7 separate regions of the Homo sapiens genome follow, and regions 2, 3, 4, 5, 6 and 7 are each linked to region 1. Evidence: promoter capture Hi-C in 16 types of primary human blood cells and fetal thymus (Javierre and others, 2016). All regions are on one chromosome and are shown on one strand. Each heading gives the region's core, a stretch centred on a gene start or on the middle of the fragment in contact. The rest is flanking DNA. Distances are from core to core; before and after follow the strand shown.

Region 1 (3,717 bases), core at 686-3,185:
TGTGAGTTCATTTTCTATCCAAAGCGTGCACAACTAATGCCTTCCTCTGTGTGCACACTTATGGGGTGGGGGGGCTCTCTGAATACACTCCCAGTAAACCAGGGTTCACACCTCTCCTGCCGCTCTGCCTCAGACTCTGCCTTCGCTCTATGTATTTAAAGTGCCTGGCACTAGTGGGAGCTCAACAGATGTCAATTCTTTTCCCCACTTTTAGCTGAATAACTATGTGAATCTGTGTCTCGGTGTCCTTCTGCCCCTCTGTCTGTTGTACGAGACCGGTTGGAGTGTGTTCCTCAGTACCGAACGGGCTATTTGTAAGATGCCCCGTGGGTTCTATCTCCCTTCCGACTCTCTCCTCTCCTGTAAAACGTTACAGGTTCCCCCATATGGCATATCCCTCCCTCACGCGATGTATCCACTCCGGTCTCCCACAGTACTGCATGTCCATAAACTGTTTCCCCATGCACCCTGGTTACCGCGTCCCTTCTCGGTGCTTCCCTGTCTCTCCCATTTTTTTTCCAACATGAAAGCGTCTGGATTTGTAGTCCAATTACAGTGTATGTGCGCCTATCTGAGCCTCTCTCTGTACTGGAGGGGTGTGTGTGTATATGTGTGTGTGTGTGTCCATGGGCTTCTCTCGAAAACGAGGGGTGAGAGGCCCGAGTCTCTGCCCGGGATGCATTGTATCCTCCCCACACCTTCTGGCTCTGGCTCGTTCCCCGTTTACACTTCCCAGAGTCAGCCCAAGACGCCGGGAGCTTTTTCGGGTACGTTGAGCGTCCGTGAACCTCTCTCTCCAGAACCCGATGTCTTGCTCCCGGGGAGCGCTAAGTGTGCGTGAGTCCTCAGGTCTCTCCCCAGGGCACTGTGTTGGTTTGTGTCCGTCCTGGACGCGGCGCGTCTCCAGTAACGCGATGCGCCGGTGTCCCGGAGTCCCTGGGAATGCAGGTGTGTCCCCTCCCCCCCCGTACGCGAAGCGCCAGTGTCCCCGCCGTTCCAGTGTGCGCCGCCCCCTTACACGGACTGCCTAAGTCCCTATCTCTATGAGTACACCGTGTGCCCCTCACCATGCGCCCGAGTCCCCATCCCTTCGAGCACACAGTGTGTCCCCTGATACGTGGAGCGCCTGTGTCCCCAAGTCCCTGGGAATACAAGGTCCCACCCCCACACGCGGAGCGCCTGTGTCCTGTCTCTGAGGATCCACCGTGCCTATGTAACTGGAAAACGCGGGCAGCTGGTGCCCGCGAGTCGTCCCTGGTTCCTTGCCCATACGCTGCTCGCTACCCTCCTTCCCCGCCGAGGGTAGCGTGGTCATCTCACTTCTCTTATCGGGGCCTCTCTCCCTCCTTGGGACCCAACAAGCCAGGAAATCCTCGGGGGCCGTCGGAAAGTCCCGCAGCGGCAGCGCAGCCGACCCAGGGCTGCGGCTGCCTCGGCCCCGCCGCCAGGGGCCGCCCGACTGCCCGCTTCCCCAACGCCCAGGCTAGCCCGGGACCGCGGCGTCAGCCACCCTGCCCGGCCCTGCCCTGCCTGGCCGCTGCGGGCGCTGACGGTAGCAGCTGCCAGCCACGGCTCCGCCGGCCCCGCACCCGGGCGCGGCCAGGCCGTGAGGGGTGCGCTCTGCCTCTCTGAGCCCAGCCTGCCGGCCGGCCCGCTCACCTTGTGGCTCTGGTAAGTCTCGAGCGCCCGGATCGCCGTCTCGGTGAGCTTCACATGCAGTACGGTGATGTTGTCCTGCCCCAGCCGTCCGCACGACAGCCCATAGCGCTGCTCCTCCCGCAGGCCCCCTGTCCCCCCCGCCGCCATCTTAAACTCCCCGGGGTGCCGCCGCCGCCGCCGCTCCGGCTCTAGCCTCCACTGCGGCCGCGGCTGCTTGGGCTTCTGCAGCCGCCGCCACTGCTAGGGCCATCCCGCTGCTGACGTACTGTCATATACTGCGCGGAGCCAGACCTCGGACTGCCACCGCCGCCACCCGCCCCACCCTCCGGCCCCGCGCCCCGCCCCGGGCTCGTCTCATTGGTCTTGTTCCCTTCAGAACCGCCCTCATCGGCCGCCCTCCACTCTCACGGGGGCGGGCCCAAAGTCACTAGAGTTTTGCTCCTGGGACGGGACGTCCGAGAGGTAAGAGGCTGACGTCTAGGTGACGCGCCAACTTAATCATGTCTGACGTCACGTCTGGTCGTCTTGGCTAGCCGGCCGAGATTGGCCAGGCTGGCTTGGGGACTCCCCTGCTAATTGGAAGTCCAGGTTGCCTGGTCTGGTTACCTGGAGTTGGAGCCCCGCCCCTGTGGGGGATAGTAGTGAAAAGTCAGAATTGGGGAATCTCGCCCTACGCGGGTGGTCCTTGGAGAGGAGGATCTCCACCTCCACTATGTAAGGGGATGGCCGTGACCAAATAAGGACTTTGTTCCCCGACGGCTGCGGAAGCTGTGGAACTTGGTGCGTGCGTGTGGGGGAGGACGCAGCAGGAGGACTCGCTAGAGAGCTGCTCCTCAAAACTCCTAGTACTGTAGTTGAGCAAACGGCATTGGGAGGAAACTGCTCACTCTAAACTTGAAGTTATCGGGTGCCACACGCAGAGCTTATAAAAACAAAAACAAAAACAAAAACCCTTGAAATTAGTGAGTCGACTCTTAGATGTAGGAGTTGTGTTAGATCTTGTGGAGCATCTTAAGGACAAAATCACGCGGGAGGTTAAATGCCTTTCGTATGGTGGGCATGGTATAATAGAGAATTGAGCTTCGAGGTCTTTCCTACGCCATGCCCTGTTGTGATTCTCTGGGATCACAACTGGTGGGGATGATATCTCCTTAAAAAGGACTCTAGAAGAAGAGTAAAACTGGCATTGATCTAAATTAAAAGAAACCTCGACAATTCTCATTCTCTAATTCAGTTTGAGTATTGTCCTTTTTATTTGATAGGGCTGTGTGAAAACCTAGCTAGGGTTTAAAGGTAAGAGGCTGTCGAGGTTAAGCGAAGGAGATGGGGGCGTGAGGGGCGTGCAAAGGCCTGGCATACTTTCCATTCCATCCACAGGATGCTTCCTGTGTAGGCGTGGCTAAAAGAGGGAGCCTAATCTGGAGTCCCTTTCAGATTGTGTGTGGATAGACTGACAGATGGGTTCCTGTCAGAGGATGGATTAATTGGTTGATCAGAAACACCAGATAAAACAAACCATTGAAAGCTTTCAAACTGTTGAAAGGCAGTTTAAAAAAGTTCTTTTAATAAAAAAACTGAGACGCTTGTTTTTACCCTCAGCTTATAAAACCATGTTCTGTTCTACTGGGATTCCCCGGGAAAGTTTATAGATATTTAATCAGTATTTTTCATTATTTTAAATGGATTAGGGCCATGATTCCATGTCCTCCCCTCCCAATAAATGCCTTCCCCACCGTACGGGTACACTCCTTTTTGATTCAGACCTTCAAACATAGTAGGTGTATAATGTGAATTACAGAATGAATTGGATTAAGTGGAAACACCTGTATTAAGTGTTACTCCATCACAGGAAAACAGTTTGTAAATTGACTTAATTTCAATCCACTAAGATTGGCTAGCTGTTAAGACGTGATTAACGCTTGCTAATTTCATTTACTTTAGTGATACAGTGTTATCTTAAATTCATGTAGTAGAGATATTAAGGTAATCATCAAATTGGATTAAAAAGTTTACTCTTAGAAGGGAAATAGAGGCTTTACTACCTAGTTTTCTCCGCTT
Region 2 (3,717 bases), core at 1-2,500, 780 kb after region 1:
TGTCTCAGTCATCATCTAAGACCATCTCACCATTATGATACACAGAAGGGCAGAAACCAGAGAAATTGCACTCTTGGAACATAAAACCTTCAAGTTTGATTGTATAAAGGACTTTGAGCCCTGAGGATCACTAGAGGGACACCAAGTAGCTGGTACTGCCCAGCATTCTCAACTATATTTCACTATGACATAATTCTCACAAATCGCAAAAGGCAATCCTGCAGCTCTGTGCTGGCTGGGAACACATGTCTCCTCTGCAAACAGTCAAGATAATGCTCAGGAACGGTTTCTATCAGAGCAGCTTGTGCCTCTCCCCTCCTGGAGTGGACAGTTTATTTTTATCTGGCAGGCTGGGGAACAGTGGTGAGTACCACACCCCTGAGAGTGGGAGTTCCTACAACGATCAGCCATTGTGCCTTCAGAGAAGAAGGCAGCAGGGGCCACTTCAAGCTTCCCTGCTTCCTAAGCTTAGGTTGTCAGAAGCCTTTTTAGAGATACATTTTTAGAAAAAGAAAAATAGTGTGGTAACAGTTTACTACTTGCTTCTTTTTTTTTTGTTTGTTTAGAGTATTTTATAGTAATATTACTATAGCTTTATGTCTAGCTTACCAAATAAGGGGTGAAGTGTGCCCCAGAGAACGCTGTTACTGTAGAAACGTGTCTTAGCCCCAATTTCCACTCATTGGTAAGTTCTTTTTCCTTTCTCTCTTTTGCAAGGTTTCAAATAAAATTGCCTTTCTAGAGCACTTCCCCAATCCATATTCAGTTTATAATCTAAAATGTATTTTACAAAGAAGTAAATGGATTGTTCGGGCTCCAGAGATGTCTTTTTTCATGCACAGGATTTTTTACTTTTAACAGGATACAATGAGTGATCAAGCACTCGAGGCTCTGTCGGCTTCACTGGGCACCCGGCAAGCAGAACCTGAGCTCGACCTCCGCTCAATTAAGGAAGTCGATGAGGTACTGACCTTAGAGTTGATTTACAAAGCTTGTTAGTCTGCACATTACAAAACCGAATGCACTCTGCATGTTTAGAATTCTCGCACAACTTTTATTGGAGAGTAAAAGTGAGCATTCTTCATTGTGCCTTATTTATTGCTGAGTGGTTAGCAACTAAGGGGGATAGTTACATGACTGACTTGTGAAACAGCTAGAATTTTAACATTTGAAATGAACACGAATCTCCCTTGCTAGAGCTTAAATGACCCTTGACTAAACAAGGTAACAAGGAGGCAATGCCTGGTGGGAAATAGTGAAGTTTGGCAATTGGAAATTTGTATTTTCAGAAGGGTTCTGGGTGCTTCTGTTTATAAGAGAAGGAGATGTCTATACACGGAGTGGGAAGATCCTTCATTTATCACTATGGGGAAAGATGTTGAAAATTTTGTCTCAAATTAAAATCAAGCAACAATTACCCTAACTAGAGCTCCTGCATATTTATAGAATAATGCTGATGAGTGTTTATCCCGCCACACTCCAAGATCTTAACAAGCCTTCTGAACCAAAACAAGCTTACATCTGGTGTACGAAAGTTTTAATATTAAATTATAATTTTTGTGGAATTTTTCAACTCAGTCCTCTGGGGTGAAAGAGGAAGGAAAGGAGAGAGTTGCCGGTTCCTGACAAGGCAGTGTTGTGGGGAGATGGAAAGGTAGCCTGGGATCCCCAGGAGCCCGCCCCACCTCCATCAGCTCAGGCTGGGGGTGCTGGCAGGCATTGCTGTCACAATGCCCCATCTCTGCTGTCACTTCCTGTTCTGAGTCATCAGGGAAGGGGAGTCTCCCTGACTTCCAGCAACAATCCTTGAGTCTGGGACTGCCCTGGCCTAAGATGGGCCAGTTTCTATCTTCGACTTTCTTGGAGGGCTCACCGGCCACAGTGTGGCACGATAAGCTTTGTGACGGTGAACGCAGAGGAGCAAGAGAAGCAGTTCGTATCTTCCAGGACCAAGTAATGTATTGGGAAGAAGGGAAACTTGATTACAACACAATGTGAGATATACATTACTTAGAGTAGCCGACAGAAGCAGTGTCATCTTGAGGAAAGCGGGGTGTTGGCAGAATCCTGGGGGGAGTCAGGAGGCCAAGCTGAGTTGTGGCTTTACCACCTGAGGGCGACAGGGCCACAAGTATATTGCACTTCTGCCCCAAGCTTCTTACAGACACTTAAGGAGAGACAATTAATGTGGGAAGGGAGGGTATAAACATGTCATAAACCTCAGGATCAAAGGAGTCTTAAAAGTGACTAAAAGCAGATAAGCAGATGTTAAGAAAAAAAGTGACATAAAATAAGTTATTTAAACATGTGGGTAACTAGTTTGGGAATGCATATGAATGTATTAAGTTCCCTCTAGAAAACTTCAGAGTCGCAGCAAACTAAAATTCCAGCAAAAAGAACTCCTCTTTTCCACTCTTATGACATAATAGTTGTATTAGTCTGTTCTCATGCTGCTAATAAAGACATACCAGAGACTGGGTAATGTATAAAGGAAAGAAGTTTAATTGACTCACAGTTCCTCATGGCTAGGGAGGCCTCATAATTACGGTGGAAAGTGAATGAGGAGCAAAGTCACGTCTTACATGGAGGAAAGTAAAAGAGCATGTGCAGGGGAACTCCCCTTTATAAAACCATCAGATCTAGTGAGAATTATTCACTATCATGAGAACAGTACAGGAGAGCTCCGCCCCCATGATTCAATTACCTCCCACTGGGTCCCTCCCACGACACGTGGGAATTATGGGAGCTACAATTCAAGATGAGATTTGGGTGGGGACACAGCCAAAGCATATCACTAGTTTTCCTTTTTAATCATATACAAAGTATGAATGTTTCTAAAGAGGATCTTTCAGTCCTCTAGATTATTAACCTGAATTCTTAGTACCCGACTTAGTGGGTCCTTTACATCCTAGATAGTCTGATGTGATGAGAAGGCTCAGGAAGGTCACTGTCAGCCTGTAGGAGTGTCCACTGCCACCCCAGCATACCCCAGAATAGAGAGCTATCTGTGGAAAACCACACAATACTCCAGAGAGGAAACCCATGCCTACTTGGTATTCCCATCATCTACCATAACATAAAATAAAAGTTTTTTATTCTCTAATGATAGCCCATTATAAGTCTCCCACATTTTTAGGTGTGGCTGCCTAGTCTAGTGCCATTTCAATTCAGTAGGCTCTTTTTTTTCGATGCCTACTGTATACAAACCAGAGCAGGCATTTCAAGACTATAAAGATCAAAGAGGAAAATAAAAGCTCTGGCCGCATGTGTAACTTTCACTGTCCACAGCCTGAGATTAGTGGGGAGGACCGTCTTAATACAGGTGACCCTGGATGTTCATGAAGGCCGCTGTGCCTTGACCTGGGGAGTGCTGCTCCATGACAGGATTTCTCCAGATGCCGAAATAGAGCGTGACTGGAAATGTTTAAAAGAAAACCATGACTTCATCCTTTAATGAGAGCTTCTCTATAAAACAGTGAAACTAATCCCAAAGCATAGAACAGTGCCTGGTCCATTAAAAGTGCTCAATAAGTAGTAATTAATCAACTAACCAATCAGTGGGTTTAGTTACATTTAATGTTTAAATGTTTTCATTTGTTTTGTTTTTTATATTTCCTGTAAAACATGACCAGCTGACTTTCTCTATTATTGTGCGTATCCTGTTTAAATGTTACTAATTACAATTGTTTAAGAACCACACTCTTAGGCTAAGATGCA
Region 3 (3,717 bases), core at 474-2,973, 760 kb after region 1:
TCTAATGTGTGGTAGACAAAGAAGTAAGGAGCTGAGGGAATGATTGTTCCATCAGCTACATGTAGTGGCGCAATGGATGAGCCCGCATCCTAGGAGCCCCCTTCCTCTGCCCCTGCTTCTATAGAAGCCCTTACCTTCCCATCCTGGCTCACTTGCCAGGACCTGCTGGGGAGCTCAGAACCCTCCCTACTCCCATCCAGTCTCACAAGACAGTTAAGTGAGCCTCCCACCTCAGCCTTCCAAGTAGCTGGGACTACAGGCGCGTGCCACCACACTCAGCTAATTTTTAAATTTTTTGTAGAGACAAGGTCTCACTACATTGCCCAGGCTGGTCTCCAACTTCTGGACTCAAGCTGTCCTCCCATCTCGGCCTCCCGAGGTGCTGGGATTTCAGGTGTGAGCCATTGCACCCATCTGTACATTGCTTTTTAAATAATAATTGTTGAATAGGCGGGTGAGTGGAGAGTAATTTCTATTAAGGAACTTTTCTCTGCTTCTTGTTACTCTGACTTGTGCCTTAATTCAAGTTTATAAATGATTACTAATATTTGGGATATTAAGATAGGTACATGGGTCATTTGGGAGGGGTAGTATTTTGATAGCAGCACTTTATACTCTGATTTACAGTATTAATTCTTTAGAGGTATTTTGGTGTATATGAGCACTGATGGTTGTGCTTTAAAATTGGCAGCCCGTTGATGTTAGCAGGACCAGCCAAGTGGCAGGCACTGCAGTAGAGGGACCTGGGTTAGAAGTCAGATGGCCAAGCTCCCAGGCCTGGCGTACACAGCTCGGAGGGTCCTCGTGCAGAGAGTGCTCCTTTCCAGCCTGAGCGATCCCTCCTTATCCTCCAATCACCGCATGACAGGTCACATTATCAGAACTGCCTGTCTCAACTATCCCCTGAACTGCTATGGTTCCCTCATCTACATTCTCATGGAACCCTGTGAGTTTCCTTTGTAGCAAATAATTGTTGGGAGTGATTATTTCTACTAATGCCATCTTTGACTAGGCTATAGCTTTCATACGGGCAGGGACATGCCTACTGGTTTTACCTCTGTGTCCCCAGCACCTGACACAGTACCTGGCACAGAGCATATTCTGGATAAACACCTGGGGGAGCCAATGAACTCTGGTAAAATCTTGGACATGAGATTCCATTTTTCTCACCTGTTTAAAGCCTGTATATTAAAGCTTGTATTAAACTTTATCACTAAGGTGCTTTCTCTTTGAAGATCTATGGATTAACCCTTCACAATTTTTTATTATAAATGTTATCCACATCAATGATACGAAATTCAAACAATGCAAAAGAGTATACAATGAAAGTGTATTCATTCATTCACCAGAGATTACAAATATTGAAAGTTGCTTGTCTTTACAGAGAGAATAAAAATTGAACAAGCTGTAGCCAGAATCGAATGGATTAATAATGGGGTGGGCATATTCCCTACTTCCAGCTCCCATGAAGCAGCTTTCATATTTCAGTTTTAAAATGGTTAGTGCCTTAGTGAGGGAAGAAAACTTTCATGCAGTAATCTGTGCTGCCAACAGGGGCCAAGGCCCTCAGCTAAATTCCCACTACACCCTGCGCCATTGCTGATTTTCAGCTGTTCTGTATAGAGATTTTACTGTTCATGGGGGCCCTCTGAAAGTTTTCTCCTTTCTGGAATTTGAGGATCACTTCAAGGTATTGTTTAATAAAGTAACAAGGCAGGCTGGACAATTCAAGGCAATGTGATTTTATGGATGATTTAATACATTTGGATGTGTGGAAAATATGTCTACCTAAAGATTTTCAGCTTCAGAAGCACTTTCACATAGAGTGTTTGGTTTCTGTGTTGGTGTTGCATGGTTGAGGGGAATCATTAAAGGAATGGAATGCAGCTAAGTGGAATTTCTTGAGTTTGAATGGAAATCTGTATAATCAATTCCAATTATGGAAGGATAGAATTACATAAATACAGGGACATTAAGCACCATAATGTTTTAAAATATTTTCAAGGAAAAATATGGATATTCATATATTTATCCATTAATTTGATAGAGGGAAAATCTGTCTTGGTACATCTTACAGTTTTCAGTACCAAAAAGAATATGAGAGAGGCCCTTCCATGCCCTGCTACAGTGACTGGGGCTTCTTGTATGTGTGCGTGTGTGTGTATTTTGGTGGAAGGGAGTGTCCAGTTGGTGCCTAAGGGTTCTCAGGAATAGTTATGTTTATATGATTATTTTTGAAAAATAAGTATACTAAAGCTTTGGATTTCTGTCTGTAAATTATGATAGTTTAACTACAAGCATCAATGTGTTCTGCATTAACTGAGGTTTGTGGGGAAGGTGATTTTGTTCATGGGCCATAGACTATAGTGGGTTTCATACAATCACCTTGAGTGGTAGTGTATTGGGGGTGGGGGAAGGTAAGGGAGAAGCAGGAATGGGCTCATGCTGCCCTGTGACTCAGCCTCTGAAGTGGCTCTGGACCAGGCATTAGGGACACAGTGAGGTCCATCTTACAGGCTTCCTTCCCTGGGTGTTGTTGGCAGGGTAGCAGCTGTTTACTGACAGTCAGTTACTTAAGAAGGCAGCTCATGCCAGATGGAATCCCTGGGTTCTAAAACCTAATGGACTTTAAGTGTTAAGGAGGTTTAAATGAGTCTGGGTAGGAGTTTGCAAAGATTATAATTATCTGTTTAATATTAACCAGTGTAATACAAGTTAAGTACTAGAATAGTACTCCAAACCATACAAGTATCCACACACACATCCCAGTACTTAGATGACTGGATCACAGGGGCTGATTGCACCACTGCAAGCATCTCAAGGAAGGGTGTTCCTTGAATAGTTACTATTTATCACCTCTTGCCTTCTAAGGAAGAGCCTAGATGAGACATAATGCAGTAGAATTCCCTCTGTAACCTTGTCTCCACCTTCTCTTTCTTACATGACACTGAACGGACAGTTCACATCCACCCAAGTCTATTTACGGGAGTTTTGTCCTTCTATCTTATGTATTAGGAATAACACACTGGCAATTTAATGAGCATCTGCAATTTGCCAGACATTTTGCCACACTATCTCAAATACGACCCTGCAAATAGATGTTACTGTACTTTGTATGTAAATGGACCTGGAAGACAAAGCTCAAAGTCACAGAGCTTGTAACTGACAGAGCTGGGGCTTGAACAAAATTTTGTTGAGTTGCAAAATCCATGTTTTTTCTGAAAATAACATAAACAGTAATTATAATAATATTTACTGAGCATTCATTATGTGCCAGGGAGTAATTCTAATAATAAACTTACAAGGTAGTTGTTAACTACTAAAGAAAAATTGAGGTTGGGAAACTGGAGATTATAAAATTTAAGTATCTTACCCGAGATTGTTTAGTAAATAGCAGACCCAAATTTTGAACCTATTTGATCTGGTTACAAAGGCTTTCACTACTGGACACCACCTCCTACTAGATTTTTGTGCTCTAAACTGGGTAAAACCAAGGTAAAGGGCCAAGGGCAGTATGGTTAAGAGGAGCTGAAGGACCATGTAGATTGTAGGTTAAATAGAATCGAACTTTCTATTTCTTTCTTTCCTTTCTAGGTGTCAGCTTCCTCTGGTGCAACCAGCAAGTCTTCCAGTATGAATCCCACAGAAACCAAGGTATGAAGAATGCTAATTGAGTGAGTGCTAATTTAAGTTGATTGTGCTGCAAAGCAAAACAAA
Region 4 (3,717 bases), core at 898-3,397, 740 kb after region 1:
AATTAGTCACCCTGTGCTGTTTTTGTCACAGGAGAAATTAATGTCAGTGAAACCTAGATGAGCTTTTAGTCTATTTTTAAAAAGGAATGACAATACTAATGATCAACAACAACAACAAAAAGGGATATATAAGCTATATATCAAGAAGAATTCTAAGTCCGGGTGCATGGCTCATGCCTGTAATCCCAGCACTTTGGGAGGCTGAGGTGGGTGGATCACTTCAGGTCAGGAGTTCGAGACCAGCCTGGCCAACATGGTGAAACCCTGTCTCTACTAAAAATACAAAAATTAGCTAGGTGTGGTGGTGCATGCCTGTAATCGCAGCTACTCGGGAAGCTGAGGCAGGAGTATTGCTTGAACCTGGGAGGTGGAGGTTGCAGTGAGCTGAGATCACGTGACTGCACTCCAGCCTGGGCCACATAGCGAGAATCCCACCTCAAAAAAAAAAAAAAATTATAAGGACAGGGTCTTCTGCTCTGGAAATGTTAGAATCTTAAAGTTGGAAGGGCTCTTATTTCACTAGATTTTTGACAGAAATAAAAGACAAAAAAAATAAGGTAGCTGTGAGGAGTACCTTGAAAGGTACATCAGAGGGCCCTAACTGCCTTGGCTGCCTGGTGGGGTACAAAGCTGTATGGATGAGTTCACCTTTTTCATGCCACTGGCCATCATTTGTCATGACTCGACACAGCACTGTCCAACCTGTCCTGAGGTCTGTGTTCCTCAAACAGTGACCAACACTACCTCCTTCACTCACACCCCAAGTTCAGGGTTCAGAGCCTTTAATGTGGTTGGTGTACGGCTTTTCATTTATTTTAAAATTTTTTATAATTATTTTCTCTAACTCTTATCATTCAATATTTATTAGTTGGCCTTCTATATGAAAGAGTGGCTTAACCCCTCTATTTATTCATTCATTTATTTACAGCAGTATAGACTCATGAATTTATATTGTATTCAATAGCTTCAAATCTATTCTAATTTTGAAGTTTGTAATATACTATAATATAAAGTAATCGGGTAGAATTCTTACTGTTAAACTACTCTTTAAAGAAATCCATTACACAGTTTTAACTGCATTTGCAAATCCCTGGTTGTAGTCATTACTAATCCACTTTATAGTTTCAAAAGAGGTCTTCGGGGGAGCATATTTGCGAAGTGCACCCACCGTCGTTGCCTTATTCTGGTAGTCACAGGGTGACAGCCGAGGGAGCGGTAACCTGTAATCAGCCGGCGGTGCGCAGCCCACACAGCACGTGGTCCGCATCACAGGCTGCGTTATTGAGTGAGCCAGTCTCCAGATGCCAGGCGCATGACGAGTCCACGGAGCGGGACCTCCCTCCCCACGCATCCCGGGCTCCCGGGGCGGGGCCGCCGGGCAGGGGGGCGGGGAGCATCCTGCGTCGCCTTCCCGGGACCGCCCCGCCCCGTCGCACTCAGAGAGCTGGGCTGGAGCTCCAAGCGGAAACCGCGGGAGCCGAGCCCAGCTAGGAATGCAGACCTCCTGAAAACCAAGCCGAGGACTGCGGGGTCCGGTGTCCACGCAGAGTGAGTACTGTCTTCCGCCGCTTTGCTCCAGGCCGCGCGTGCTCCCGGGTCTAGGGCCTGTGCCCCCGGCTACCTGCCCTGCGTGTCCGGGGCCTGGTCCCTGCAGCGGACTCCCCAGGCTCGGGACGTGCGCTTTTCCTACTATCGCGACCCTGGCGATACCGTGCGTTCTGAGTTTAACTGTGTTTCTTGGCGACTCCTCCTCCTTGTCGGTAACACTGTTACTGCCCCTTCCGCCGGGAAATGTATCTGGTGACCGGACGCGTAGGGTTACAAAACAAGGGATTTGTGTGGCCCGGTACAAGTGGCCCGAGACAAGTGGCCCGAGACAAGTGGCCCAAAAGAAGGAAAGCAGCAGCTATGTCAGTTTGGTTTGGCACCTTTATCTCTAGGGTTGGAGATAGATCTCCTCCTCCCCAGCCGTGCCGCCACCCTGTGATGACCTCCGTTTTAGAGCGTGAGCTCACTCTGACCTTTCTGCGTACCTGATACATGCTGGGTGTGGCGTGGCAAGTGTTGTAACCTGTTTCGGTTCCATTTCCTTTACACAACCTGAGACGGTTGTAGAATAACATCACTGAGGGTTACTTTGTGTCTATCTTTTAAGAATACAAAGTGTTTTCACAGAGATTTAACTTTCTCTTCTGTATGGTTAGGGACCCGGCATTCTCCACTTACACACAGGCAGGGGGAAGTTCTTTATTCCCATTGTACAGCTTCAGAAAATGAGGCAGAGAGTTTAGACAGCTTCCCTAAGGATCGGGACTTTGGGGCCTCTCTAGTTTTCTAGGAAACCACCTATGCATCAGAATGACAGAAATGCTTAATCAGCAGCTCTGGAAAGTTCCTGCTGTTTCACATGTTTTTCAGAGGAAAAACCTCTGCATTGCAGGGAAGCTCAACAAGGAGTGGCATCTACTGTTCAAAAGGGGAAAGTCTATTTCCTAATCAGCACTAGAGTTTATATTAATATAGATTGCTTCTTTCTGATGAATGTATTCGACTTTTGTGCACTGATTTTTCAGTATCTAAAAGGAATATTGAGTTGTTGGGAATATGCTGGGGAGGGTGTGCTGCTTGGGTTCTAGGAGGCAGTATAGGATTAAAATGAAGTAGTGAAATTTAGCAAAATCTTGCTGAACAAGGAAAGGCCACACCTGTAGACTGATGGAGAAGGAATAAGCCACCTATAGCAATGAGGCTGACTAGGGATCCCGTGTGTGTGCAGCAAGGACTCCTGGTGTCTATTACGAATCAGCATGCTTTGTAGACTGTGAAACAGTGTTTATGAAGCAGCACATTCAAGTATAAATATTGGCTGTGGTTCAGTTCAGATGCTTTGAAAGAAGAGTCCGAATGCCAGAGAGTAGTTGATTATATAGAATTAGTGGGGAGTTTTGGTTCCTTGATTATTCTCTGGCAGAATTGACTAAGTATAACATCTGTACTGCAATGAAAACATAAAAGCTAGTACGTAAAGTAACAGTTTGAAAGAATGAAACCAGAAAGAAAAAGAAAGCATTTTCTTTTCATTTGAATAACTTCTGAAAATCAGCTGAGTATTTATGTTTCTATTCATTGTTTATAATCACAGTTAACTTTAAGTGATCACTACTTCTTAGGTGGAAACATTTACTTTTTCTCAAAATATGAACTGTCTTAATTAGTCCTATTCAAATAAAAACTCCATAACCCATATTCTTCTATGTTCATATATATCTTTGTATCTCCTCTTTCATTATACCTTATAATTCCCTCAATTTGGAGATCATACGAATCTGGGATATCTGTTTTAGCATTGGTGTGTCTAACCTCATAAGAACATATCGCATAGTTTTTCTGATACATAGAATTAGCAATCTGCTTACTAGAAAATTACAGGAGGTCTTCATGAACATTGCATTTAATTTTTTCTCTATGGACGCTCTTGACTTAAAAATGTCATCTTAATGTTTCTCAAAAGGCATAGTCTTGGCATTTTGGGTGACAATTCTGAATTAGATAGAGCTCTTTGCTCGCACTGAATGTCAGAGCGTGACCGAAAGCACTTTCATGCATTTAAATGAACTTTGGTTGGGTACTACATCCAATTTTTTAAAATTGAATAAAACATATTAAAAAGGGCTAGGGACGGTGGCTCATGCCTGTAATCTCAGCACTTTAGAAGGC
Region 5 (3,717 bases), core at 551-3,050, 720 kb after region 1:
TCAAATTTAACAATGGATTTATTTTTATGAGTAAAGAAAACACAAATAAAAGCGAACGGAAATTCTGCCTTAAAGGAAAAGATGTTTTTTTACATTTTCCTTACTCTAATGGCATTGGTGGCATGCTTTTCCTCAGTGTTTACCTCTCCTCCTTTTAGAATGCATGAATTCAATGTTGAATGACTCAAACATTTTTTTTTTACTTTTTTCTTTTAATAAAGTTAGACTTTTTTAATCACAAAAGTAATACATACTTGTGAAAAACAATATTACCCTGAGTCTTACCGCTTAAACTACTGCTCTAAACTTGTGTGTATATACTTAAATTAACGCGATAATGTCATGTATTTATAATTATTATATATGCCAATTTTAGTACTTTTTAATGATTGTGTAGCTAAAATATAATTATTGGAAAAAAATTAGAAAGTACCAGAGAATTTAATGAAAATAAACACCCTTGGCCAGGCGTGGTGGCTCATGCCTATAATTCCAGCACTTTGGGAGGCTGAGGTGGGCGGATCACAAGGTCAGGAGTTCAAGACCAGCCTGGCCGATATGGTGAAACCCCAACTCTACTAAAAATACAAAAATTGGCCAGGCGTGGTCGTGGGTGTGGGCGCCTATAGTCCCAGCTATTCGGGAGGCTGAGGCAGGAGAATTGCTTGAACCTGGGAGGCGGAGGTTGCAGGGAGCCAAGATCACACCACTGCACTCCAGCCTGGGCAACAGAACGAGACTCTGTCTCAAAAAAAAAAAAAAAAAAAAAAAAAGAAGAAGAAGAAAAGAAAAATGGAAAATAAACACCCTCATCTAGGATTCTAGCACCTAGAGAAATGGGCACTATGTACATCTTGGTGTATTTTCCTGCATCTTTTTTCTTTGTTTGCTTATTTTGTTTACTGAAATGCTGCATATCTTGATTTTTAAGCAGAAATAGCAAAGGAACACCATTATAGGGCCTAGTCTGAAAATGATAAATAATGTGCTTTGTGATAGATAAATCTTTTCCAATTAAAAAAAGACCCATCAGTGTGTGTGGCATTTAAGTATATAGAAAACCATTATTCAAGCACCTTGGCATTCAGTATGGCATTTAATGTTCATTATTTTGTGCTCTGTTTTTGAAGGGAGGAGAAATTTACTTCTTATTCAAGAAGTAATTTGTGACAGTGTTCCCACAAGTGATTTAGCTGTCATTAGCAAGTTCTAGAAGAGTACTGCAGCAAACATTTTAACATTCTTTTATGTCATGACAAGAGAGTTCATACTAGTTGTGGGGAGTCGATTGTGGCTGCACAAGCTCATGTCTCAGTGCCAAGAAAAGCTAAGCCGAAAAGCTGCACCGAGGCAGTCATGCCTGGCTCACCGGGATATCTAGCCCCAAGAGGCCAGCACAGGCTCGCACTGGGTGCGACTTGGGAGCTGAGTCTGACTTGGGAGGCTAAAGTGACTCTGGGAAGTTACAAGATTCTTTTCAACTGTGGTTTCCCCATTTTTTCATTTGAAATTTTCATTTATTGTTTCATTGACCAGAGTATTTTCTAAGATATTTTTTTCAGGGAGGGAGCACAATGATGATTTTCTGAGTGTGTGAATGTAAGCATGTTTTCTCGTTGGTGACTCACAAGAAAGTCCATCAATACAAAATTGTACAACATCCTTGGGTCACAGTTTTGTTCCTCAAAATTCTGTATCTATTGCTTCGTGGTTTTCTGGCTTTTTGTGCTTCAGAGATGTCTGAGGCAGCCTACTTTTGACTTACTTTTTAGGAAGCCTATTTTTCTTGCCTTGGTGCAAGATTTTTTTCTTTTGTTCTTACAATTTAAAAATACTACCAGGATGGGCCGGGCGCGGTGGCTCACGCCTGTAATCCCAGCACTTTGGGAGGCCGAGGCGGGCGGATCACGAGGTCAGGAGATCGAGACCATCCCGGCTAAAACGGTGAAACCCCGTCTCTACTAAAAATACAAAAAATTAGCCGGGCGTAGTGGCGGGCGCCTGTAGTCCCAGCTACTTGGGAGGCTGAGGCAGGAGAATGGCGTGAACCCGGGAGGCGGAGCTTGCAGTGAGCCGAGATCCCGCCACTGCACTCCAGCCTGGGCGACAGAGCGAGACTCCGTCTCAAAAAAAAAAAAAAAAAAAAATACTACCAGGATGTACTTATATATTAATATGTGTTTTTCTTTATTAATTTGTCTTGGAATGTCTGTTATTTCATTATTTCTTTAATTATTACTCTTGTTTCGGTTTCCCTTGTTTCTTCCTAAACCTACATATGCAATAGTTCCTCTTTATCAGCTGTTTCGCTTTTCATGATTTCAGTTACCCACGGTACAATACAATGAGATATTTTGAGAGAGAGAGACCCCATCCACATAACTTGTATTACAGTATATTGCTATAATTGTTATATTTTATTATTAGTTATTGTTGTTAATCTCTTACTGTGCCTATTTTAGAAATTAAACTTTATTATAGGTATGTATGTATAGGAAAAACCATAGTGAATACAGGGCTCAGTACTATTTGCAGTTTCAGGCACCCACTGGGGAATCTTAGAATATATCCACTGCAGATAAGAGAGACTACTGTAATTCTGACATTAGACATTCACTAATCATCTGCCTCACAATTTTCTTTTGCTGACATTTACCCTTGCACTCTAGGAGAGTTTCTGAAGTTTGCCCCCCACATATTTTATTTCTAAATTCTGCTCTTTGAAACTTCTAATACAGGTTTAAATTTTGGTTTTCGTTTTTGGTTTCTTTGTGTCCCCTTCTTATCCTCTCTTACCTCTTTGTCTCACTCCATTATCATTCCATCTCAATCTATAGCTCTTTACTCCATTTCATGAAGGTAATACCATCTTGTTTCCTATCAAGGATGTACACTTTTGTCTGAATTTTCTTCTTATTCTGTATCATTTTATGAGATCTGTCTTTTTCAGTCTTCGGGGTAATGATGCCCTCTGCCTTTCTCTGTGGTGGTTTTGAGAGGCAAAATTTCTTTCTGATTACTCTTTTAAGGAGAGCTTGGCCTACTCCTAGAGCTTGTCAGCTGTGATGAGCACATTGTCCTTAGCCCTGCTCTTCATCTATGTCCCTGCTAACTAAATCTCCTCAGACCTACAGCTGTTTGGCAGGTGAATATGCACAATGCTGGTAAAATCCCCACTACCTAGTGGACTTTCATTCATTACAGAACATCCACTGTATGAAATGAGATGCAGGGAATAACTCCATTTTTTAGCAAGGATTGCTAATGCGGCTTTTTTTACCTCCACCCCCAAGAAGGCCACTTTGTACTTAGGACAACTACTCCCCCAGGTGCAGCATGCTACTGCCACACCCTGCGCACAACCCATCCTCCCACACCCTGCCCACTCCACTGAACGCACCAGATTTCTGCTTAGTTGGTTTCCAGGATTTGGATTTGGAATCTTTGACTTGGGTTAGAAAGAGAGGCACTAATGGGGAATAAAGATAGGTTGCCTCATGAAGAGGACTCCTACCAAAGAGGTTTGACTGCTAGGTTTTCTAGATGGCTACATTTCTGTGTGGAGTATGAGCATTCAGGAAAGAGGGGGTCTTTCAGGGACATAAGCTTGCTCTGTTTCAGATGCATGACACAAGTGGTTCACCAATTGTGCTTTTCAATATAGTTCCATTGGCTTCGATTAGGATGGAGATTCTGCCTAGATTTTTGGCATTTGGT
Region 6 (3,717 bases), core at 755-3,254, 690 kb after region 1:
GATGTGGACTGTCTTGCAAGATGTATTGTTAAATGAAAAAGGCAATGTGAAAAATGGTGTAGATAGTATTCTAGTATGTCTGTAAAAACAGAAATATTCTTTATATAAATTTTCTTCATAACCACATATAAATTGCTCTATTGGCTGTTCCTGGAATTAAAATATTAAAAAATTATAAATAGTGGTTGCCTCTGGGGAGGTGTTGTGGGGCTGCACATGTAAACAGGGAATATTTGCCTCTCATCATCGATTGATTTTTATTATTCAACTTATTTGTTTTAAACACAGCATTTCTTTGTCTATTATAATTTTAGATATCCAATAAAAAATAAATATTATAAATCAAGTGCATGTATAATGTGTAGGTTAAAGCTTATCACTTAGAATCTCTAGAATTTCCAGTTCTTTTGCTGAAGTAACTTGTACTTCTAGAAATCACTTAGCCAAACGATAGGAGGTGAAGGTGAAACTGTTACTGATGCCCAACCTCTCTGTTGCGGACTACCAAATGAAAAGTTGTAATGAATATACCATCTCCCATTTCACCATCTTCTTGAATCATTTTGAGGCTTGGATTATTTTTGTTTCTATAAGTGGCTTGACTTTTCTGCTGGGAACTGCTGGCATGTTTGTGATGGAGTTAGGGGCACTGGCTTGTTGGGTGATTTGTTGCTGCTTAGTGACATACACGGATCGGAGGAAACAAAAACCCCAACTCTCCCACAGCTCCATTTTCCACACCTGCAGTCTCAACCGGAGTCCTTAGGTTTCGGTATATCGTTTTTGTTAATTACATCCAATCCAGACTTCAAAGGCATTGGTTGTACAAGATCATACACTGAGGATGACTTGTTATTCAAATTAACACCTAGTACAGTTCTGTGGTAAAAATAGCCTTGTTGCAAGGAAGTTTCCTTGCTTTGTAAAACCGTTTTAGATTTAATAGGATTTTTACCTATATGAACCTTCGATTATACCACCTTGTGCTGTTCTAGCCAGTATCACTTTTTATGATTAGATCAGTTTCCTTTTTCTAAGTGTTATGAGTTGAAATGTGTCCCCCCAAAATGAATATGTTGAAGTCCTAACCCCATACGACCTTATTTGGAGATAGGGTTTTTATAGAGGTAATCAAGTTAAAATGAGGTCATTAAGGTGGGACGTAATCCAATATGACAGATTTCCTTGTTAAAAATACATAATAAATAAATAAATAAACTAAACTGAGGCACACACCGGGAGAACACCGTGTGAGAGTGGAATTACACTGCTACAAGCCTGCAGGGAGCTAGGACAGATCCTTCCCGAGCTCCTTCAGAAAGAGCATGGCCCTGCGTGCACCTTGATTTTGGATTCGTAACCTCCAGAGCTGTGAGATAATAAATTTATGTTGTTCTAAGCCACCTAGTTTGAAGCTGTTTGTTATATCAGCCTAAGGACTCTGGATGGGAAATAATTGGACAAAAGTGAAAAAGACTCCAGTTCAAAATGAGCTGTGACTTTCTCCAATTCTTTCCTATACTAGGAAATGCCCCTTGTGAATTTGAATTCTGCTTTTGGTAATTTAGTCTGGAAAGAGTAACTGCTTTTTCAACTTAGGTTGTGTTTCCCCAGTATTTGTAGGAAGAAACACTACAATATCACTTCTCTCTGTGTGAACTCATCTATCCTTTAGGTTATATTTTCCACTAGGCTTTGGATGTTTTTACTCAAGTTGTTTCTTCTGCCTAGAATGACTTACCACCCTCTTTTTGCTAAACTGTGTGCCTTCCCCTCTTTCAAAACCCACTTTCAGAACTTGTCTGCAGATTCACTTCCTTATTGGTCTTTCTAGATTAAGTCTTTCAGGATAGAGTCACTCAGCAAGACTGTGAATGCTTTATATTGCCAAGTTTACACTCCTCTCCTCATAAACTATTTATTTCTCTCTGTATATTTAATATTTAGGTATATTTAAGTTTATATATTTAAGTTTCAGCACTTGAATTAATATATCTGTATATTTAAGTTTCAGCACTTGAATTAATATATCTGTATATTTAAGTTTCAGCACTTGAATTAATATATCTGTATATTTAAGTTTCAGCACTTGAATTAATATATCTGTGTATTATTTTTCTTTAAGTGGCAACATCTTTGAAGGAAAAGTTTTTTCAGTCAGCAAGTAATAACAAACGTAATAGTTACAATTGCTACATTTATGAGTACTTAGTACCTCTGCATTGTGAAACTGGGAGAAGTTTTATTTATATATATGCGTGTGTGTGTGTGTGTGTGTGTGTGTGGTGTAATAAGACACTCGTTCACAGTCACACAGCTAGGTAGTGGCAGAGCCAGGAATTCATTCCAGGCTGAATTGATTCTGAAGCCCTAGCTCTGAGACGCCTACTCAGTAAAGATGGTCCATTCACCTGACTCCAGCTAATAGGTCAAGGACTTCATCTTGCTCACAGATCTACCCCCAGGGCCTGGAATACTGTCTGGCACATGGTGGATACAGGATTCATGTTTTTGTTGCATAAACAGTCTGTAGCTCTGTCGATGTATGGCTATATTAATAGGAATAGAGGTACTCATAGGGCAAGACATGTCTTTTTAAAAATGTTAGCTCAAACCATATAAAATTGCCTATATTCAAAGTTTTTAACCTACAGAGATGGCAGTTTCATGCTGTTCAATCTTATACAATTGCCAAAAGAATTTAAAATTAATAAAAGATTCAGTCTTTTGCTGTTAGATTTGTTTTTAAAAAGTTTTTTCATGTCAGTGAGCCTCAGACTCCCATTGCAGCCCTTGGTTTCTGACAAGGACAATAAATTACTGTGTTTCTGTCATTATACAGTCTCAACACAAACATGTGTTCCTGGCATCTGTCTGACATTGCAGATGTTTTCTTTTAATAAGCAGGGTTAAAGTTCTTCTCTCATGAAAGAATTTTGCTATTCACATAAGTCGAATAATGAGACAGCCCTGGGAATGTAACCTCTCCCAGGATCCATTGTTTGTCATCTTCTCGTAAATATTTGAAGTCAACGGGCCTGATTTCTAACTCTCTTTCATTGATCTGCTCTCTGGCCCTCTGCCACCTTGGATCAAGCCACCTTTGCCACCTTGGTTTCCCCATTGATCAATCATTCTGGGGCTAGTGGATAAGTCTGTTGAAAGAGTCATAGAACTGGATTCTAGTTTTCCACCAGAACTAGTGATGTAACTTTGACCCAATTGAGCAGTCTCTGAACTGTTTCCTAAATAATAAAATGAAAATTATGTTCATCCTGCATCATCACAGGTTTATTGTCGGCATTCAAACTGTAAAATACCATTCAAATGTAACATGTTCCTGTTAGAGTTGCATTTAAACTTCAAGTCACAGAGGCAGTAAAGATTAGTCAATCCTTGGTGTATATAATGAGTTAGGTAATACTGTAATGACGGTAACACAATAGCTAACAGTCATAAAATTTTCTCTCTGACAGACACTATTCTAAAAGTTTTACTTGGATATTCTCACATAATCCTTATAGCAACCTCATAAGTTAGATATTATTCTATCTCTATTTTACAGTTGAAGAATCTGAGTCAGAGAGATTGAATAAATTACACAGTGAGGAAGTGGCAGAACCAGCCCTTTGCAGCCAAGCTTTCAGCCTGTGGTAGACACATACAATGCTCATCAAATACCCATGTGTTTCCTTTAATTTCCTGGACTCCCTTGTA
Region 7 (3,717 bases), core at 766-3,265, 650 kb after region 1:
AATGTAAATTTGTTCAGCCACTGTGGAGAGCAGTTTGGAGTTTCCTTGAAGAACTAAAAATAGCACTACAATTTGACCCAGGAATCCCATTACCATGTGTCTATCCGAAGGAAAAGAAATAGTTCTACTAAAGCTATTCCTGTACTTGTATGTTCATGGCAGCACTATTCACAATAGCAAAGTCATGGTGCCCACTAATGGTGGCTTAGATGAAGAATATGAGATACTTAGACACTATGGAATACCATTCAGCCTTAAAAAGGAATGAAATCATGTCCTTTGCAGCAACATGGATGCAGCAGGAGGACATTATCCTAAATGAATTAACACAGAAACAGAAAGTCAAATACCACATATTCTCATTATAAGTGAGAGCTAAACATTGCATGCATGTGGGCATAAGATGGGAACAATAACACTAAGGACTCCAAAACAGGGAGGGAGGAAAGAGAGCAAGAGTTGAAAAACTACTTACTGGGTACTATGTTCACTCTCTGGGTGTTGGGTTCAATAGAAGCCCAAACCTCAGCATTTCACAATATATCCACGTAACAAACCTGCATACATACCCGCTGAATCTAAAATTTGAAGAAAATAAAACAAAAACAGAGAAATCTGCACTTGTACCGGTTTAAAGAAATAAATACGTTTTAATCTAATCAAATATATCAAATCTTTTACTTTATAATTTTGGTTTACTGGATTTTGTTAATATGCTCTTTCTTACACTGAGATTATGCAAAAATTCTTCTGCATTTTCCTCAAACTTATTTTAGTTTTGCTTTAGATGTTTAGATCTCTTATCAACGGGGTAACAATTTATCTTTGTGTATGATATAAACAAGAAGTCTAAATAAATATACACACATATATACATACATACACACATATATACATGTGTAAATACACAGTACATGTAATTTTTCTCTGTGGGTAACCAATTAATGTTTATCAGTTAGCCCATGCATGTTCTATTGATTTGTAATGCCACTGCTTCATGTATCCAATTTCCAAATATGTATGAGTCTCTTTCTGAACTCTCTATTCTGTTCCACTGGCAAGTCATCCATCACTGTGCCAATAGCACACTGCCTGAACTACTATAGTTTTATAATAAGTCTTGATATCTGGTAGAGTGACCCTCTCCATCTTCTTCTCTTTCAGAATTTTCTATTCCTAGCTGTTTTCTTCCATTCAAATTTTGAAATAAGCTTGTCAAGTTCAGCAATAAAAATCCAGTTGAGGTTATAATTTGAATTGCATTAGAATAGATGGATTTGAAGATGAATGACAGTTTTCTTCTTATCCTTGAACATGGTTTCATCTCTCCTTTCATTTAAGTATTCTCGAAGGTCTTTCAATGAAATTTCATACTTTTTTCATATTTGCACATCCTTTGTTAGATTTAATACTAGGTACTTCAGATTTTGTAATACTACTATTTGTGCTATCTGTATTTTCTGTTTAAGTCTTCACAACCCTATGAGTTAGATATTTTCACGTTCATTTTCTAGCTAAGGAAACTAAGGTCCAGAAAGATTAAGTAACTCACCATGTTATCAGTAGTCAGTGATGGGGACGGGATGCAAAACAAGTTCTATCTGACCCCAAATTCTGTGTTCTTAACCTCCAATCCATACTCTGTCTTCTGATGATTGTCTTTAAAGCATTTTTAAATGAAACAACTTAAGGGTATTCAAAGGCACAAAACAACAACAACAATAGTAACTACCTATCTCCCTGGAGAAAACGTTAAGTACCTCAAACTTTATTCTCTATACAAATAACCTGGGACTTCTATTACAATGTACATCTTAATCCTGTAGGTCTGGGGTGGAGCCTGCAAATATTTAGGTATTCCCAAATGTCTTTCAATGAAATTTTATACTTTTTAAAATAATTGCACATCTTTTGTTAGATTTAATACTGGGTGCCTTATACTGTTTTTTAAATTGTTGTTCATTTATCTGCATTGTGAGGCTGGGTATCCTCACAGCCCTATGAGTTAGATGTTTTATGTCTATTTTGTAATGAAGGAATCTAAGGTATAAAGTAACTAACAATATATCATCAGCAGTAAGTGACCAGGTAATACAAATGCTGCCGGTCCAAGGAACCCCTTCCAGAACCACCACTAACTCTACAGCATTTTCTGGTGAGGAACCCTTTAATTAACATGATTAAAGGTGAGAACTCCACCAGATGGCAGCAGAAGCTCATCATTTTGTCTCAAATGATTCCATTTCCCTCTGGATGGAGTGTTAGCTGTTGGCAAATGCCTGACTCGTTAGGTTATTGCGGTGAAGTGAATCAGAATCAGGGCCTTTCACTCCTGATGCTGTGTGCAATCTTACCTACTACAGCGCCTCAGTGTTGACAAGGGATTTTCAGCAAAAGCATCCAGCCGGGACATGCCCACGAGCTTCTCCCAAAAACCTTATGGCAGGAGGCTTATAAATGAGAATGAAAACTGTTTTCCATGGGTTGCTTTTTCATCACAGTGAGTTCAATTTAGGTACTTAACCAAGAAAAGGAAACATGATTTGAAATGTTTGGCAGGGGATTAGAAGAGGAAATGATTCATTCACTGTGGGGAACGGGAAGCTATTCAGGCAGATAAACCTGAAACAGAGTCCAAAGATTCAGAGGAAATCCAAGAATAATGCCAGGGACCCACCTCCATCCAAAGCCTAGGCCCAGCCTCTCCCCAGGGGTGCCAGATTACCCCTCTTCCTCAGTGCTTTTTTTCTTTTTAAAAACTGAATATATATATATAGTTGAATTATGAAAAGGATCCATCATCTTGTACTGCTCCCACCCTAAGCTTGGTAAAATGAGGCACCTGTCACTAAGAAGGCTAATGAGTTCATTATATTCTCTTGCCTTTTAGTTACTTAAAAGCAATAATTTGGGCACTGGGGAGGCCCTCAGCGCTGCCTTGAGTGAGCTGTGAGTAGGCTTTAGCCTAGTATAGGCAGCCCCCAAATTTCAATAGTTCAACTTAAGATTTTTGAACTTTACGATGGTGCAGAAATCATATGCATTCAGTAGAAGCTGTACTTGGAGTACCCATACAGCAATTCAATTCTGTTTTTCAATTTCAGTACAATATTCAATACATTACATGAGATATTCAGCACTTTATTATAAAACAGGCTTTGTGTTAGATGATTTGCCCAACCACAGGCTATTGTAATTGTTGGAGCATATTTAAGGTAAGCTAGGCTAAACTATGATGTTCAGCAGCTTTGGTGTATTAAGTGCATTTTTGACTTACAATATTTTCTATTTCCAGTAAGTTTATCCCATCGTAAGCCAAAGAGCAGCTGTACAGGATGGCATTTGGCAGTCCCTAGGCAGGTCTCACTTCCTCCTCTCCCCTTACTCTGCCATAACCATCTCTCCCATTGACTCAGTCAGCACTGTCTGTGCTGCTGCACAGGGCTGTCTCCCAGAGTGTGTTCACATAGTCCAGTCTATCAGATTGCTTTGCTAATGTGCCAATGGCAACAGGGAGAATGAAACAGACAAGGATTCTGTGGGCTGTCCTTGGCTGAGACGCACATTGAGGGAGAATTCAACCTGCTCCACCACGCCAGGCCCCAGGGAAGGAGGCCAGGGAGCCTAAGAGGGGTCAGGTGGAGGTGTATGGTAGTGAGTAGGGAATCAGGAGATTATCAGCCGTCCTATTATTTAATGGTTCTTGCTTCAAGCATT

Evidence for each region. Contacts are between HindIII fragments. The CHiCAGO score rates a contact against its expected background, and 5 or more counts as called.
Region 2: a contact is called between a fragment that was not itself captured here and the fragment with the promoter of ELL2 in region 1, in 1 of 17 cell types (erythroblasts). The highest score is 5.9, in erythroblasts.
Region 3: a fragment that was not itself captured here is called in contact with the fragment with the promoter of ELL2 in region 1 in 1 of 17 cell types (naive CD8 T cells); the score reaches 5.1 in naive CD8 T cells.
Region 4: a fragment that was not itself captured here is called in contact with the fragment with the promoter of ELL2 in region 1 in 1 of 17 cell types (erythroblasts); the score reaches 7.1 in erythroblasts.
Region 5: a contact is called between a fragment that was not itself captured here and the fragment with the promoter of ELL2 in region 1, in 2 of 17 cell types (M1 macrophages and M2 macrophages). The highest score is 5.0, in M1 macrophages.
Region 6: a contact is called between a fragment that was not itself captured here and the fragment with the promoter of ELL2 in region 1, in 2 of 17 cell types (M0 macrophages and M1 macrophages). The highest score is 6.8, in M0 macrophages.
Region 7: a contact is called between a fragment that was not itself captured here and the fragment with the promoter of ELL2 in region 1, in 5 of 17 cell types (total CD8 T cells, M1 macrophages, M2 macrophages and 2 more). The highest score is 6.3, in total CD8 T cells.

What each region holds. Positions count from the first base shown.
Region 1 is chr5:95,959,916-95,963,632 of GRCh38, forward strand. ELL2 (elongation factor for RNA polymerase II 2) reads right to left here and starts at 1,936. Exons shown (of 12, transcript NM_012081.6): 1 at 1,660-1,936. The coding sequence starts at 1,806. It overlaps LOC101929710 (a long non-coding RNA gene), which reads left to right and starts at 2,086. Exons shown (of 5, transcript NR_130776.1): 1 at 2,086-2,121. It also overlaps a transcript of CAST not described here. RefSeq lists silencers at 1,350-1,759, 1,830-2,069, 2,025-2,492 and an enhancer at 1,788-2,545. The HindIII fragment of the contact is 3,633 bases long and covers 1-3,182 here.
Region 2 is chr5:96,741,794-96,745,510 of GRCh38, forward strand. It overlaps CAST (calpastatin), which reads left to right. Exons shown (of 32, transcript NM_001750.7): 16 at 862-963. Among named protein-coding and RNA genes, the nearest start is that of ERAP1, 64 kb to the right of the region's middle. The HindIII fragment of the contact is 523 bases long and covers 990-1,512 here.
Region 3 is chr5:96,719,045-96,722,761 of GRCh38, forward strand. CAST (calpastatin) reads left to right here. Exons shown (of 32, transcript NM_001750.7): 4 at 3,595-3,654. Among named protein-coding and RNA genes, the nearest start is that of CAST, 59 kb to the left of the region's middle. The HindIII fragment of the contact is 1,062 bases long and covers 1,193-2,254 here.
Region 4 is chr5:96,701,368-96,705,084 of GRCh38, forward strand. All of the region lies in intron 3 of CAST (calpastatin), which reads left to right. Among named protein-coding and RNA genes, the nearest start is that of CAST, 41 kb to the left of the region's middle. RefSeq lists a silencer at 1,309-1,438 and an enhancer at 1,678-2,177. The HindIII fragment of the contact is 5,929 bases long and covers 1-3,717 here.
Region 5 is chr5:96,679,607-96,683,323 of GRCh38, forward strand. The region is part of intron 2 of CAST (calpastatin); the gene reads left to right. Among named protein-coding and RNA genes, the nearest start is that of CAST, 19 kb to the left of the region's middle. The HindIII fragment of the contact is 3,608 bases long and covers 1-3,604 here.
Region 6 is chr5:96,646,460-96,650,176 of GRCh38, forward strand. It overlaps a transcript of CAST not described here. Among named protein-coding and RNA genes, the nearest start is that of CAST, 14 kb to the right of the region's middle. RefSeq lists an enhancer at 1,634-1,703. The HindIII fragment of the contact is 3,268 bases long and covers 371-3,638 here.
Region 7 is chr5:96,611,996-96,615,712 of GRCh38, forward strand. The region is part of intron 4 of LOC101929710 (a long non-coding RNA gene); the gene reads left to right. It also overlaps a transcript of CAST not described here. Among named protein-coding and RNA genes, the nearest start is that of CAST, 49 kb to the right of the region's middle. The HindIII fragment of the contact is 1,613 bases long and covers 1,210-2,822 here.